Regions from separate parts of the Homo sapiens genome. Here region 1 is linked to region 2. Evidence: promoter capture Hi-C in 16 types of primary human blood cells and fetal thymus (Javierre and others, 2016). All regions are on one chromosome and are shown on one strand. The core of a region is centred on a gene start or on the middle of the fragment in contact, and the rest is flanking DNA. Distances in the headings are between cores, read along the strand shown.

The links. Contacts are between HindIII fragments. The CHiCAGO score rates a contact against its expected background, and 5 or more counts as called.
Region 1: a fragment that was not itself captured here is called in contact with the fragment with the promoter of PCM1 in region 2 in 1 of 17 cell types (neutrophils); the score reaches 5.0 in neutrophils.

Annotation. Positions count from the first base shown.
Region 1 is chr8:17,362,227-17,365,644 of GRCh38, forward strand. The region is part of intron 3 of MTMR7 (myotubularin related protein 7); the gene reads right to left. The region is part of intron 1 of LOC102724838 (a long non-coding RNA gene); the gene reads left to right. Among named protein-coding and RNA genes, the nearest start is that of MTMR7, 49 kb to the right of the region's middle. The HindIII fragment of the contact is 185 bases long and covers 1,490-1,674 here.
Region 2 is chr8:17,921,195-17,924,508 of GRCh38, forward strand. It overlaps PCM1 (pericentriolar material 1), which reads left to right and starts at 1,794. Exons shown (of 39, transcript NM_006197.4): 1 at 1,794-1,994. LOC124901867 reads right to left here. Exons shown (of 4, transcript XM_047422505.1): 2 at 2,963-3,033; 3 at 2,315-2,572; 4 at 1-2,152. The coding sequence ends at 1,470. RefSeq lists enhancers at 1,162-1,611, 2,762-2,821 and a silencer at 2,006-2,300. The HindIII fragment of the contact is 6,694 bases long and covers 1-3,314 here.

The DNA.
Region 1 (3,418 bases), core at 332-2,831, 560 kb before region 2:
GATATAAAACTTACTAATATTTGATACATTTTGTTTTGTGCTGTCTTTGAAATTTCACATGTATTTGGCACTTAACCGCATACCTCAGTTTGCAGTAGCGCTGAACAGCTATCTGTGGCCAGTGGCTACCACCTTGGACAGTGCAGATCTAAGCATTTCTGATGATAATAAAGGATAACTGATACTCAGACCTTGTTTTGTTCCAGATTCTGTCGCAATTAAGTGCATTAATCCAGTTAGTAGGCAACATTGATGGTCCTCATTTTACCGACGAGAAATCTGACGCAAACGGGAGGCACACTCCCTCCCTCAGAGTCACACAGCCAGTTACCGGAGAGTCCAGGTTTAAATGAGACATCTGGCTGCAGAAGGCCTGCTCCTAATTGTAACACACCCTCCCCAAACGCAGATCCTTCTCTCTTCTTCTTCCTTCCTCGTTCCAGGCCCCTAATCTTCCTGTTTTTCTCCAATATACTTCTTTCTCATAGCTTTCCTAGGTCCTCCTATGTCCTTAGCATAGTGATAGTATTCAGTGTGAACAATTTAAGTTTCCTAAATACATGTATGTGTAGCCCTTTATAGAATCTTGCCACCAGCAAGAGGCTGCAGCAACACACAGGCAGCCTGACATGAAAACTCAGGTTTCAAACTTGAGATGACTCATCTGCATGGAAGAGGAAAGATAAGGGTCATATTTTAAGCACCAGATTTCTTCATTTTTCTTGAGAGTAAGAAGCAACTGCTGTATGTCAGTGAGATAAATTATATTCTATTTCAGTCTTTCTCCATGTCATGTTTCTAAACTTCAAAACTTAGAGTACGGACTATTTGGACAAATAACAAAATACGCACATCCAGGCGTGCTCACACACAAACCAGAGCAGACGCGTTCCGTAAAATCAATTTCTTATCATCTTAGCTAATGTTGCTGACAGCATGTGAAACCTCAGATCCTGTTCTGGGAACAGTTGGCTCAACATTGACACATCTTTTCCATCTCTAAGTACCATTTTCATGACTCAGGCTTCTGCTACCATAATGTTAACCACAAATGCAAGTTGTTTAGGATGCCAAAGGAATCTCTTGAGAAAGCCTCAGTTCCCTGAGTGAAAGAAGAGCTACTGAATATGGGGTAATAATGGCAGTTAAGTTCTCTTTGTTAAATATTTACAAATAGCTTTAAAGGTAGAAGAAGAAAAACATCCTATGACTACTGACAGTTTTCTGCGTGTGGGCTGATACCTGTTTCCACTGGGAAGAGGCAACGAAATTATCCATAAATTACAGCAAGAATAATTTATAACAGACATTAAGCAGATCACTGTTGAACTAGGAGACCTTAGGATGGGTTGACACTGAAATTATGAAATTTTCCCTTTTTTAAGGAAAAGGGTGATCAACCAATCCTTATGCCCAATTTAAGGAAAATTGTACACGAGGGCCAGGAAAAGCCCATTTTTGTCAGCCAACAGTCATGTCAATATGGGCAAGCTTCTTACCCACAGGCAAGCCCAGATACAGCCTGCAGACTCTGCCTACTCTAAGAAATCGAAAAGCGCCACTAGCACAGATGAAAGTTTTACTGAATTGTTCCCATGTCATAATTTTCTGTTCTTTTCGTTCTCTACTTTTACCAAATATTTAGCAGAATGTTTAGCAATTAGCTGGGAGGCAAGCTTAAAAAAAAAAAACCTAGGGCTTGACAATCCTTTTTTTTTTTTGCTTACAGACTTTTTAATAATATATTGATGAATTACAGTTTCATATATTTCTGGGGTAAAAAGTGTTGCTATTATTTTTTTTTTTTTTTTTTTTTTTTTTCAGACGGAGTCTCGCTCTGTCGCCCAGGCTGGAGTGCAGTGGCGCGATCTCGGCTCACTGCAAGCTCCGCCTCCCGGGTTCACGCCATTCTCCTGCCTCAGCCTCCGGAGTAGCTGGGACTACAGGAGCCCGCCACCACGCCCGGCTAATTTTTTGCATTTTTTTTTAGTAGAGACGGGTTTTCACTGTGTTAGCCAAGATGGTCTCGATCTCCTGACCTTGTGATCTGCCCGCCTCGGCTTCCCAAAGTGCTGGGATCACAGGCGTGAGCCACCGCGCCCGGTCAAAAAGTGATGTTATGATTTTTGACTACAATGTGGAATGATTAATTCAAGCTAATTAACATATACATTGCCTCAAGTATTTAACATTTTTTGTAACGAGAACATCTGAAATTTACTCTTAGCGTTTCGAAATGTACACTACTGAACTATTACCTATACTCAACACACTGTGCAACAGATTTCAAAATAATGAGACTTATTCCTCCTGCCTGAGGCTTTGCAGCCTTTGACCATCATCTCCCCACGTCCCCCACCCCCAGCCTCTGGTAACCACCATTCTACTCTCTGCTTCTATGAGTTTAACTGTCATAGATCCCACATGTAAGTGAGAACATATGGTATTTGTTATGTTTGGCTTTTTTCACTCAGCATAATGCTCTCTAATTCCATCCATGTTGTCACAAATAACACAATGTCTTCCTTTTTAAGGCTGAATAGCATTCCATTATTTGTATATACCATGTTTTCTTTATCTCTTCATCCAATGATGGATACTTAAGTTGATTCCACAACGTGGCTACTGTGAATAGTGCTGCAACGAAAATGTGAGAGCAGACGTTTCTTTAACTTACCGATTTCAATCTTTCCAGTAAGCACTCAAAAGTGGGATTGTGGAATCATACGATAATTCTATTTTTTGTTTGTTGTGGAACCTCCATCTGTTTTCCATAATGGCTTGTACTAATTTACATTCCCACCAACAGTGCATAAGCATTCTCTTTCCTCCCCACCCTTGCCAAAGCTTTGTTGTCTTCCATCTTTTTGGTAAAGGTCATTCTAACAGTTGTGAGGCGATACCTCACTGTGGTTTTAATTTGCATCTCCCTAATGATTATTGAGGTTGAGCGTTTGTTCATGTATCTGTTAGCCATCTATGTCTTCTTTTGAGTAATGTCTCTTGAGGTCCCTTGTCCTTTTCTTAATCAGAGTACTTGTTTTTTTTCCTATAGAGTTGTTTGAGTTCCTGACATATTTTGGGTATTAATCCTTTATCAGGTATATGGCTTCCAAGTCTTTTCTTCAATTTCCTTTGTTATGCAGAAGCTTCTTATATTTTAGACAAATCTTTAATATTTACAGAATCTGAACAGAGAGAAAATATTTGCCCACTCTAGGAAGGTCATATCCCTCACCTGATTTTCTACCCACTCTTAAAACAGGCATGTTAAAAGCTCCTCTGGCTTTTCCCATCACAGTCTAAGCCAGCATATCCAACTAAAACATCTTTTGCTGTTAGTGACCAGCAGCTTTCAGCAGGAAGTGCAACGAAGGCCTCACCCTAAGGGGCCCCATTACACAAGAGCTCCTCCAAT
Region 2 (3,314 bases), core at 544-3,043:
TTTCACGCTTTTGAATTTATTAGAATTGTTTTAATGATAACAGCTTCTACATACGTTTAATAATAATACATATGTATAAAGCAAAATAATGATGATAGCTAATATTTCGGGCCTCAACATATACTAGTGTTTTTATATGCGTTGTATTTAATTAAAAAAAATCTTAAAGGAATCACATAGACCTCCGTTTAAATTTAGGCTCTACCACTTGCAGCTGCTACAAGTTTGATTTATATAATCTTTCATTGCCAAAACGGGTCAGATTCAGAACCAGCCTCTTCAGGGTAACTGTGAGGATCAAGAAAATCACAACAGCCGAAGTGCTTTACAGTGTGCCTGGCATAAAACAAACTCTGAGAACATTTTTTAAAAAATCCTTTCAAGGTAGGCAGTATCATTCCTTCCCCCTCATTTCATAGATGGGGCAATTAAGGCTCAGAAAGGCACGTCGCTTGTCCAGGATCTTGGAGTGGTGGAATTAGGATAGGGCATTCTGGACTACAATAAACACCTGAGCGTTTAGCTGCTGTGTTCTGAGCTCCCACAGCACTTTTTCTTACAACACAAACTTTATTTACATCACACTCCACTTCCGCATCCTTCACTAAAATATGAGCTCTTCAAGGGCAGGGACTATATTTTTGCTACCGCAGTAGTTAGCGATACACACACAGAATATGAGGAAAAAGTGTCTGACCAACGATCAATGCACTCACGACTGAACCTACGGTGGCAGATTGCAGTGGGATAGAAGAGCTTTATGTGAATTGCGTACTGAGATGCAGACCTACTATTTTGGGAACAATTTGTTTTTGTTGTTGAAACCCAGAATGCAATTCTTCTTTTTACCTTTATTTTGCTTAAAAAGTTATTCCATAATTATAAACTGCGTAAAACTAGAAGAATGCCCTTGCACTCAACTAAAACTGACAGGTGTTTTACCTTTCCAGTCAGGCACATTGAAGGCCTTGTGACTTTATTGATTTTTGTTTTTTAAAGGGAGGACCTGCCAATTTATTAATCTTAATAGAGCTGTAACAGGAGAGTATAAATAAAAAGATAGTTCAGAGAAAATTTACTGAAATTAAGTTTGGATTAAAATCATCTGGCTCTTTTAAGGAAAAGGGACATTAACCAAAAGTGGCGTTAACTATCAACAATATTTATGATTCTCTCACTCAGTAGATACATAATGACGTCTGGCAAATTGTTTAACTTCCGTGGAACAATCCCCTCATATGTAAAATCAGGAGGTTGGACTACATTGTAAGTGTCCTTTTGTTTCCACCTCTTCGTGACCGAATGTGGGGTGAGGAAGGGGCAAAAAAGCGATCCCGGTCTTGGCTCCTTCTTCCGGCACGGGCCGGAGCTGACACCCCCACGGAAAACCGCACAGCGCCTCCGCTCTTTCTCCACGGGCTGAGGGATCAATGCACTTCCGCATAGGCCTAGGGCCCCACGCTCCGCGATCAGCGCCGGAAGCGCACGGCATGCTGGGATTTGTAGTCCTCCACCTGTGGCCGGCAGGCGTTTAGAACGCGAGGTCTAGTTGGCATTCTGGGATACATAGTTCCTGGGCGGGTGGGGGCGGATTCGTTGGTGTAATCTCTTTTCGGCTTAAAGAGCCAGAAGCGACACCACAGACTCCGGCGGGTCACATGACTCCAGTCTAGCTCGCATTGCGGCTCCCGCCCGGGCGAGTTCTCGCCCCCGCGCGGCCGTTGCCGAGGAGACGGCGCATGTCCCGCCGCGCGTTGCCCCCTCTGCAGTACCCCCGCCCCTCTTCTCCCACCACAATGAGATCCTAAGATGGCGGTGGCTGCGGCGGTTGGCGCTGCGTAGCTGAGGTCGAAAAGGCGGCCACTGGGGCCGAGGCAGCCAGGAAACGTGTGGGCCTCTCTGCTGCGGTCTCCGAGGGCCGACCGCTGCCGGCGGCGGGTCGTGGGGGCTGACTGTCGCTCTGCCTTTGACAGGAGAGGCTGCTTCTTGTAGAGGTAATGCCTGCGCGTCCCCAGCCCTTGGCAACCTAGGGCGGCGCGCCCCAGAGGCGGGAGAGTAACGGCTCCGGGACACTCGGCCCTGTTGGGTCTGGCCACGGGCCCACGCCTCCTCTGTAGGTTCCCGGGTCTTCCTGCCCCGGGCTTCCCGTGCCCTAGGCGGTCAGTCCGCCCGCTCCCTCAGGACTGATCGCCGGGATCCCCGGGTGAGCACCTCGCGACGCGTTGGTGATTGCAGGACTCCCTTCTTGCCTCCTCGCCCCTCCTGCTGGCCCTGTCGGGGAGGCTGTTCTGCGTCCCGGTGGCTCCGGCTATACCCCTTGCGGGCGGAGGAAGCGGAGCGGGGACTCTGGTTTGGGTGCTAGGGGCACTGGGTCGAGTTCTTAGAGAAACAGGCCTTGGTGGCCATAGTTCTTCCCCGCGTTCCCTCTGTGGAACTCTCGGTGTCCAGAGTTTGGGGTGTAGAAGGGCGGATGAGGAGCGACGCGACTCTGAAGAGTTGCAGTTGGGCTGTGAGCTGCAGGATTTCCGCCGTCTCTGGTGCTGTGGGAGCCGATGGGCCGGGGGAGGCGTTCCTGGGAAGGTTAATGGAGTAATTATTGCCCCTTCTTTCTCCCTTCCTACCTATCTAGTTAGAATTGGGCCTAGAACCGGGAAAGACTAAATGCCAAGTGGGACTGGGGGAAACGTTGTTTGGTTTACAGAAACTGGCGTTTGGGGATTAGGCCCCGCCAGGGAGGCTGGGCGCGCCAACTTTGCATCCCTCAGCCTACTCCCCAGGAACTCGCCTGGTTTAATTTTTTTTGTTTTGTTTTGTTTTTTTGAGCGAGTTGAGGTCTGTATTGTGTGTCTTACGGGTGACGGTTCGTGTTTGGGCGCTGGAAGGAGCGGGCTTTCTGGGCGCCCCTACCACCCCCGCCCCATAACCGCTTTCCAGACTCCGCCTGCTGGTGTTCTCTGGTTACCGGAGTGGGTGTTGCAGAGCCTCGGGTGCACCTGCTCCTTTCTTTCCCTAGCACCTTCCTGGTGAGGACCCCTGAACACCAATATAATACAGAGTTTTTGAATTGAAGGTAAACCTGGTATTTATGTAGTGACGAGGTTATTTTATTATGAAGTACAGTAGCTTTTAAATGAGCAAACATTTTTAAAATCATCGGATATACGAGGTTGTTACATAGTTTGAGTAACAGGAAGCTCGATCAATCAGAGGAGTAAACTTTGGCATAGACTATTAAAGGATAGTTAGGGCTAACCATCTTTGTTACACTGTTCCGAAATAGATATCACTTTGCTGTTTGGTAAGATTTCAGAAGT